Linked DNA regions of Homo sapiens: regions 2 and 3 are each linked to region 1. The links are contacts of gene promoters, found by promoter capture Hi-C in blood cells and fetal thymus (Javierre and others, 2016). All regions are on one chromosome and are shown on one strand. Each heading gives the region's core, a stretch centred on a gene start or on the middle of the fragment in contact. The rest is flanking DNA. Distances are from core to core; before and after follow the strand shown.

Region 1 (3,188 bases), core at 353-2,852:
GCCTGTAATCCCAGCATTTTGGGAGGCCAAGACAGGCGGATCACCTGAGGTCAGGAGTTCGAGATCAGCCTGGCCAACATGGTGAAAACCTGTCCCTACTAAAAATACAAAACTTAGCCGGGCGTGGTGGCGGGCACCTATAATCCCAGCTACTCGGGAGGCTAAGCCAGGAGAATTGCTTGAACCCAGGAGGCGGAGGTTGCAGTGAGCCGAGACTGTGCCACTGCATTCCAGCCTGGATGACAGAGTGAGACTCCGTCTCAAAAAAAAAGCTCCATTTGGGAGGCCGAGGAGGGTGGATTACCTGAGGTCAGGAGTTTGAGACCAGCCTGGCCCACATAGGGAAACCCCATCTCTACTAAAAATACAAAAATTAGTCAGGTGTGGTGGCTGACACCTATAATCCCAGCTACTTGGGAAGCTGAGGCAGGGAGAATCACTTGAACCGGGGAGGTGGAGGTTGCAGTGAGCTGAGATCATGCCACTGCACTCCAGCCTGGGCGACAGGGTGAGATTCTGTCTCAAACAAACAAATTTAAAAGCTCCGAATCCTCCAAAAATACCAAGATTTTCCTGTCGGTAACTAGAGATGGGTACTGATGATTATTTTTAATAGGTGATTTTCAAAGATGTGAACGTTATCCATGGAGATTTAAGTCTCCAAAAGGAAAAAAAATGCATACCTTTATACTAAAACTTCATCACCAGTCAAATTTGGATCATCACTAAATTGGCTTCTACACCTCTCTCCTAATATAAGGTACTTGTGTAAGTTTGCAGTTGTGAGACACTTATTTCCTCATTTTTAATGTCTTCTCAGTAGGGCCACTGATATAGTCACTATTTGACTGACCAGAATGGTTGGCACTGGTGATTGGCTCATAAAGTGCCCTCGATTTAGGGGGCTCAATTATCAAAGGTTTAAATCCTAGCCCAAACCATTGCTGTGATGGGGGTTAATCAATGAACCACTCAGCTTCACTTGCAAAAGCGGGATCACAATAGCCGCTTTCGTCATGACCCAGCCTAGGTGAGATTTAGTACTTAAGTACACTGCCAGGCACACAAGGTTAATTTAACAATTTAACACATTTGTTTCCTCATCCATTTCTCCAAACCTTCCAACTAATCCTAACGTTCGTTCGGCCAAATGGGCCAGGAATTCACTTAAACAAAAACAAAAAACAAAACAAACAAAAAAACACTCCCTGGGGCTTGGGGAAGGAGGCACCGCCGCCCATGTCGCAGTCTGGGGGTGGCTCAGTCCTCAGCACCCAGATCTACGGCCATAATGCTCTTCGAGGCCAAGGAGCCCGGATGCGGGGCGTTGCCGAAGGCGTCTTGCTCAGGCTGCGGGAAAGGAGAGGGGTGGGAGCGGGGTGGGGGCATCGCGACCCAGGGCAAGGCGGCGAGTCGCCGTCTTCGAGTCCCACCTGTCCGAAGCGGGGTGAGAAAAGGCAAAACATGGCAAAGCCATGCACCTCCCAGGGTGGGCAACTCACGGCCGGTGAACGCCGGACCCTTAGCAGTTTCCAGACCTTTGGAACCGGAAGCGGAGCCTGAGAGCGCGCCCGAGAGGGCGTGAACGGGACCGCTTTCCCGGAAGTGCTTGCGGCCTCTGCCCAGCGAGCTGCCCCGGGGTCTCTCTGGTTTCCTAATCAGGGCAACGCCGCGGGAGAGAACCTTTACCTTGGCTGCACTAAGTTCTCGGTGCCACTCCCTGGCAGGGCGGGACCTTGTTTAGGCCCTGTGATCGCGCGGTTCGTAGTAGCGCAAGGCGCAGAGTGGACCTTGACCCGCCTAGGGCGGGAAGAGTTTGGCCCGCCGGGTCCCAAAGGGCAGAATGGACGGGCTCCTAAATCCCAGGGAATCCTCTAAATTCATTGCAGAAAACAGTCGGGATGTGTTTATTGACAGCGGAGGCGTACGGAGGGTGGCAGAGCTGCTGCTGGCCAAGGCGGCGGGGCCAGAGCTGCGCGTGGAGGGGTGGAAAGCCCTTCATGAGCTGAACCCCAGGGCGGCCGACGAGGCCGCGGTCAACTGGGTGTTCGTGACAGACACGCTCAACTTCTCCTTTTGGTCGGAGCAGGACGAGCACAAGTGTGTGGTGAGGTACAGAGGGAAAACATACAGTGGGTACTGGTCCCTGTGCGCCGCCGTCAACAGAGCCCTCGACGAAGGTTGGTGCCATACTTGCCATCGGACCTAACGGCCTTTGAGGTTTCCATTTACTTGGGGTGTGTGTAGGGGAGTTCCAAGGAGCGGGTTGGGAGATGGAATAATGGAAAGCGAACCTGAAGTTCGTTGCAAGTCCTTATGCTTAAAATAGAAGTATGAAAAGGGGCATATTTTAGTGGAAAATGATGTTAATATTTATCATTGCAGCATAAAAGTTACAGTAGCATAAAAGTCAGTTTTATAAAGAATGCCATTTGAATGACACCTGAAGAACAAAAGGACCGATGTTATAAAGCAATTTACTCAGAATACATCTGATGTAATATTGCAATAGTTAGAAATGGGTGAATAAGTACAGATGAACAAGTAGAAAATGAGTTTTGCTTTAGATTTTTTATTCTTCCACTTTTGGTGCATTCCTATACCACTCATTTGGTTTCATATTAATTCCATGTTGTAAAAGCAAGGGTTTAATGCATATGGAAGTATGACATTGGTCCTCTGAATTTTATTTTTTCACTAAAGGGATACCAATAACTAGTGCCTCGTACTACGCGACAGTGACCCTGGATCAGGTTCGGAATATACTTCGTTCTGACACAGACGTTTCCATGCCTTTAGTAGAAGAGAGGCATCGGATTCTCAATGAAACCGGGAAAATTCTGCTGGAGAAGTTTGGAGGCTCTTTTCTCAACTGCGTCCGAGAAAGTGAGAATAGTGCGCAGAAGTTAATGCACCTGGTGGTTGAAAGTTTTCCTTCTTACAGAGATGTGACTCTGTTTGAGGTGAGTTGCTTCTGTTGGGGATTTTAGAAGTCTTAATCATCTCAGAGTTAACTCTTTTACTTCCAGAACTCATTTTAAGAATAAAAACTTAAATTTTTAAATGTATTCCTTGTGGAAGAAACTAACAAAATCAAGTAGTGTTTCAAAGTCATTTCTTATGTTTTCTTTTGTTTGTTTGTTTGAGACAGAGTTTTGCTCTTGTTGCGCAGGCTGGAGTGCAGTGGC
Region 2 (3,188 bases), core at 464-2,963, 2.4 Mb before region 1:
TCTTTTGATTTGTCAAAATATTAAATTGACATTTACTCGAGTCTTTAGAATCACTATCCTATTTAGGTCTCTAAACATTATTAGGGACCAAGTCTATTCCATTCTCCATTGTATCCTCAAGCGTTCCATGTCATGTCTGTTCTGTTTGGGACATGCAATAAATGTCAAAGAAGGATGAGGAGAGATGCAGGGAGGATCTTTTTTATTTAAAAAAAAATTTTTTTTTAAATTTTGAGACAGGATCTCATTCTGTCACCCAGACTGGAGTGTAGCAGAGCAATCATGAGTCACTGCAGCCTCGACCTCCCAGACTAAAGCAATCCTCTCACCTCAGCCTCCCAAGTAGCTGGGAGCACAGATGCATGCCACTATGCCTGACTAAATTTTTCATTATTTGTAGAGACACAGTTTCCCTGTGTTACCCAAGCTAGTCTTGAACTCCTGGGCTCAGGCAAATGGAGGATCTTTTATTTTTCTTTTAATATCAAGTGCCTTCTGTACTTCCTTTTATTAACAGCATAGTTGTTGCATCAAGATACATAGCAATCATAGCAGGTTTCCTTTTTTGGAGGGTGATGGTGAGACAGGGTCTTGCTCGGTCCCCCAGGCTGGAATGCAGTGGCGCAATATCAGCTCTCCACAGCCTCTAACTCCTGGACTCAAGCAATTCTTCTGCCTCAACCACCCAAGTAGCTGGTATTACAGGCATGCATCACCACACCCAGCTCATTCTTATATTTTTTGTAGATACAGGGTTTCACCACGTTGGCCAGGCTGGTCTCAAACTCCTGACCTCAAGTGATTCATCCAACTGAGTCTCCGAAAGAGCTGGGATTACAGGCTTGAGCCATGGCGCCTGGCCAGCAGGTTTCTTTTTAAAGCTTAGTATTAAATATCTTTCCCCATTTAAATTTTCCATTACTCTGCCAAGAAAAAAAATTTTTTTTTTTTTGAGACAAAGTCTAGCTCTGTCACCCAGGCTGGAGTGCAGTGGTGCGATCTCAGCTCACTGCAACCTCCACCTCCTGGGTTCAAGCAATTCTCCTGCCTCAGCCTCCTGAGTAGCTGGAATTACAGTCATGCACCACCATGTCCAGCTAATTTTTTTTTTTTTTTTTAGTAGAGATGGGGTTTCACCATATTGGCCAGGCAAGTCTCAAACTCCTGACCTCCAGTGATCCGCTCGCCTTGACCTCCCAAAGTGCTGGGATTACAGGCGTGAGCCACCGCTCCCGGCCAAAAATTAAAATTCAAGTTACTTGAAGCCTGGACACACTTCCCTGGCTAGCTGGGCTATGTAAAGGTTGGTGGTGTTATTCTTCCTGCTGTGTAAGCAGATCCAGGCCCCAGAAAGAAGGGACCAGGTTATATAATTGTTTTTGAAAAGTTTGCTACAAAAATGCATGGCCTGTTATAAGCCAGGATACAAAGTAAGGATGAGGGTAAGGGAGCGACATTTTTTTCCAGAAGAAAGATATTTTCTGAAGAGTCTCAGTTCATAATTTTCCCAAAATCGTTGGAAGAGAGGGTAAAATCTCAATATGAATTTCAAAGTACTGTCTCTGTGAGGGGCCGAAAGTTGCCTTGCTGAGGATCTTTTATTAAGTCTTAAAATTAGAGTAGTAGCATTTCCCAGCTGGCATTCTTTGAAATGTTTTTCTAGATGGCAGTTAATAATATTTCATCACCAGAAGTATACCTAGGCCAGCGAGGGAATAACACTACACACTCCCTTCTCTCTTAGAATTCCTGGGTTATTTCCAGGACATATTAGCATATTGAAGGTATCTGAGAAATATTATTTCTAAAATTTGAACATAGAATAATTTTTGAGTAACGCTAATTAATAGCCTACTTAACAGCCCTTTAAGGAACACAAATTTGGGGAAGCATTGGTGTAGAGAGCCTTAAAGTTTTACAAAAGAAAATATTTAAAGGATAGATGTTCAGCTGCTTAAAATGAAGGAACTTGTTTCACATGGCTTCATCATAAGGTGTTCATCCGTGTCAGAAGACACGTGTTCTTAACAAGTCCTTTTTTTTTTTTTTTTGGGAAATTTTTTTTTTTTATATTATGAGCTATTAAAAAAACTAGGTTCTCCTTAGGGAAAAAAATACATGCAAATGCTCACAAACTTTTAAATTCACACTTTAGCGGGGTGGTGATTTCTGAAGGCCCTTTCTGTAACCCTGGTGTCTTTCAGGAAACCCAGGTGGAGATCCCATGTTTAAATTACTTTCCGTTTCAAGAGCACTTCTTAGATTCTTTAAAAAAGGACATCTTAAATTTTACATTACTGTTACAAAAATTAGCCAGGCATGGTGGTACATGCCTATAGTCCCAGCTACTCGGGAGGCTGAGGTGGGAAGATGGCTTGAGCCTGGGAGGCAGAGGTTGCAGTAAGCTAAGATCACACTACTGCACTGCAGCCTGGCCGACAGAACCAGACCTTATCTCAAAAATAAATAAAAAACAAACTTTACCTTGTTAATGCTATCTACTGAGAAGACACAATGATTTAGGAATTTTTAAATTTAAGCTTGTAAGTTTTATTTTCTAAAAAATAAATTTTTTTCAGCTTTTTCTAAGAGTGTCAACCGGCTTATTTTGTCAATATGTCTATTTATTTTTAAACAGAGGATTTTTCTCCAACAATTATAGAAGATCAGGCTCGTGAACATATTCGGCAAAACCTAGAAAGTTTCATAAGACAGGACTTTCCAGGTAAATGATTTATTTTTTATTTTTAAGAAAAGTAGTGTAACCTTTTTTCCAAATCAGTTCATGTGTTACAAGCACACTGATTTTGAGAATCAGGATTTCCATTGTTTTGCAATATACCCAGGATGGTCCTTGGTCTGCCAAATCCTCATTTACCAACAGAAACAGTGTAGGGTTTATTCTAGCAAGTGCCATAAGTGAATTTCATTTAATACTATGTTTAGAGTCAAAGTTAAGCTTACATTATTAAATGTGTTGAGGTGATCTAACATTTTCCTTGAAATGTCTTTGCATTTAAGAATAAAGGAGCACCTGGTAATCTTTCTTGCCATATACAGCTTGTATGTAAAGGAAGCTTTGAGAGAAAAAGACTTTAGCATAAATGACCAGTTAATCAGAGAACATAAGTATGAGATTAATATAGGATAATTAAACAACTGGGTGTTTTTGATTCATGAGAGGGCCA
Region 3 (3,188 bases), core at 284-2,783, 2.3 Mb before region 1:
TATTCTGATGAACAGTGTAGTGGAAAAACTTGCCTTCTGTTTAGGAATATGTATTGCTTAGCTTTATTATAACTTCTAAGCTCATTTAACAGGTGTCATTTTAAACTTTTTTTTGCACTTCTTTTCTATCATGTGAATTTAAAACTTATTAATGATAAGCAAAGTAGATGATATTCTTGTCTTGTTTTATGAACTTTACTTATTGGATGAATGGTGGCATTTTCTATTTGATTACCTTATTTGCTCTTAAATTTTTTTGCTTAGATCCCTTTGATTTGAATCATAATCTTGGAGCTGGATTATCAAGGAAAAGTGAGTTACTTCGTTTGTCAATTTTATTTTTTATTTTACTTATGTATTTACTTTTATAATAGAGACAGGGTCTTGCTTTTATTGCCCAGGCTGGTCTCAAACTCCTGGGCTCAAGTGATCCACCTACCCCAGCCTCCCAGAGTGCTAGAATAACAGGCGCCACCAGGCCCAGGTAGTTTGTCATTTGTAATACAATCTCTTTTCCTTTTAACCCGCCTAAGTGAGTTCTTACTCTTCTTTTTAGTGACAAATTTTATAATGAAGGCTTTTATCAATGGTAGAAGAGTATTTGGTATTCCTGTCAAGGGATTTCCAAAGGACTACCCCTCAAAAATGGTAAGTGTGTTGGAAATACCAAAAAATAAAAAATAAAAAAAAGTGCCTAATTTGTACACATCACTTCAGTAGTAACTTAAATATTTAGAAAGTCTGTGAGTCTAGCCAAAGTAAATGACTATTGTACAGAATGATTCCCAGAGCCCCCCTTTTTCTTAAACATCCCCGGGTAGAGGCCATCAGAATAGAGAGAAATAGTAAGAAGTTGGATTTAAGGTTGTTAAATTCTTGTTTTCCTCTTTGATGCCTTTTTTTTTTCTGGTTATCTGTGCTAGCCTTCATAGGTGCATTGCTGTTCTGCCAGCATTCGGCTTGATGCCAGCCTTGGCCAAGCCCAGTTTGTACATATCTAGAATCTAGATTTTCCAATCTGCTTGCAAAAAGTAGTAAATCTTTTGCTGGGACTAGGGGGTTAACAGTGCTTCCTGTAGCAGACAGCTATCTCTTCTCATGTAACTTGATACTCGAGTTTTTCAGGAACCACATTTATTGAAAACAAAGCAAAATTATGTCAAAAAAATAATTTCAGTGAGAGAAAAATGGCTAGGGACTAGATGATCTTGCTAAGAATAATATTATGTTCTTCTGCATTAATTTCCTTATACTTTTTATTCTTATTTTTAATTGACATACAGTTTATGGAGCACAACGTGATGATTTGATACATGTATATGGAATGATGAAATCAAGTTAATTAACATATATATATCACCTCACCATTTTTTGTGGGGAGACATTTGAGATTTACTCTTAGTTATCTTGAAATATACACTATTATTGACTATAGTCACCCTGCTGCGCAATAGATCTCAAAACTTATTCCTCCTGTCTATCTGAAACTTTGTACCCTTTGACCAGCAACCCCCTATTCCCTCTGTACTCCCAGTGAAGACTTTTAAAATTTAACGTAAGTGTATTGCTTTATAGGCACATTCAGTGTTTGATTACATCTGTACATCTGATTTATGGTAGATATTGATGTGGCTTCTACACCAGTGCTTCTGAAACTTGTTCGAACAAATCACCTGAGGATTTTGTTAAAGTGCAGATTCTGATTCAGCAGGTCTAGGATCAGGCTCAAGACTGCTTTTCCAGCAAGCTCCCTGGGGATGCTCATGTTGCTGGCCTCCACCTTAATTTTAGTACAAAGAGGCTACAGGCTAGACCATTATCTTTCCTTTGTTCTGTTATTTTTCCTTCAGCAGCCACAACTAAGCAAAGTAGAAACACATAGTTTTTTTTCTTTTCTTCAATATAATCTGTATGATGCAAATCATGTTTCTCAATTCATTATGTTTTAGCCTTTTCATTTGATGAGGAGACAAAGCCTGTGTACCTGGCCTCAACTCCCTCCCACATCCTGAAAAGCTGACTCATCCGCTTCTTTAGAAGTGTGCTTAAACCTTTAGGGTTAGGGCTCACGAGTGCTCTGCATGACTAAAAGGAATAAACAAAAATGGATTTAGTTAAAACTATCCTGAGTTAGACCTTGATGGTCTTAGATTTTGTTTGGAATTAAGCAGTATAAATAATATTTATTAAAAGTAATGTTATATCAACATTGAATTGTAAGATAACTGTTTAATATCTGGTTAGTTTTGTGTTCCGATCTCACGTGAATAGTTCAGGCTTTTATATATTTATGTTCTTCTAGGAATACTTTTTTGATCCAGATGTGTTAACTGAAGGAGAGCTGGCCCCAAATGATAGATGTTGTCGAATTTGTGGAAAAATCGGACACTTCATGAAGGACTGTCCTATGAGGAGAAAGTAAGTAAATGTTCAAAGGGGTTGGTTGTGTTTTTATTTTCTTAATGTCCCAATTTTTAAATGAGGTACTATTATAACAAAGAAAATACACTTGTGTAAAATCCAGCAGTTTTCAGATACATTTAAGTTTTTTATTTTATTTTTTAATGAAATGAAGTGATTTAAAACATGACTTTAGGCCGGGTGCAGTGGTTCACGCCTGTAATCCCAGCACTTTGGGAGGCCAAGGCGAGTGGATCACCTGAGGTCAGGAGTTCAAGACCAGCCTGACCCACATGGTGAAACCTCATCTCTACTAAAAATTAGCCAAGCATGGTGGCGGGCACCTGTAGTCCCAGCTACTTGGGAGGCTGAGGCTGCAGAATCGCTTGAACCCGGGAGGCAGAGATTGCAGTGAGCCCAAATCACGCCATTGCACTCCAGCCTGGGCAAAAGAGCAAGATTCTGTCTCAGAAAAAAAAAAAAAAAGCCCAGGTGTAGTAGCTCATGCCTGTAATCCCAGCACTTTGGGAGGCCAAGGCAGGCGGATCACTTGAGGCCAGGAGTTCAAGACCAGCCTTGCCAACATGGTGAAAAGAGGAAACAAAAATTCTTCCTTTTTACAGTAGTGAGAAGTTCAGAATCATTTCAGTCAGTAAACAGTCAAATGAGTTCCTTCAGGATCTCAGTTACATCTCTAATGCACAGTAACTGTTCAGCACGTTGGGATATATATTCACAAACAGTTCACTGGATTTTAGCACTCTTTGTTTGTATTCCACTTAACCCTT

The links. Contacts are between HindIII fragments. The CHiCAGO score rates a contact against its expected background, and 5 or more counts as called.
Region 2: a contact is called between a fragment that was not itself captured here and the fragment with the promoter of QNG1 in region 1, in 1 of 17 cell types (total CD4 T cells). The highest score is 6.3, in total CD4 T cells.
Region 3: a fragment that was not itself captured here is called in contact with the fragment with the promoter of QNG1 in region 1 in 1 of 17 cell types (neutrophils); the score reaches 7.3 in neutrophils.

Annotation. Positions count from the first base shown.
Region 1 is chr9:83,955,156-83,958,343 of GRCh38, reverse strand. It overlaps QNG1 (Q-nucleotide N-glycosylase 1), which reads left to right and starts at 1,602. Exons shown (of 4, transcript NM_032307.5): 1 at 1,602-2,180; 2 at 2,704-2,963. The coding sequence starts at 1,844. The HindIII fragment of the contact is 8,080 bases long and covers 1-3,188 here.
Region 2 is chr9:86,319,121-86,322,308 of GRCh38, reverse strand. It overlaps TUT7 (terminal uridylyl transferase 7), which reads left to right. Exons shown (of 27, transcript NM_024617.4): 15 at 2,639-2,725. Among named protein-coding and RNA genes, the nearest start is that of TUT7, 34 kb to the left of the region's middle. The HindIII fragment of the contact is 1,659 bases long and covers 884-2,542 here.
Region 3 is chr9:86,302,316-86,305,503 of GRCh38, reverse strand. TUT7 (terminal uridylyl transferase 7) reads left to right here. Exons shown (of 27, transcript NM_024617.4): 23 at 265-312; 24 at 557-648; 25 at 2,303-2,418. Among named protein-coding and RNA genes, the nearest start is that of ISCA1, 21 kb to the right of the region's middle. The HindIII fragment of the contact is 3,720 bases long and covers 1-3,188 here.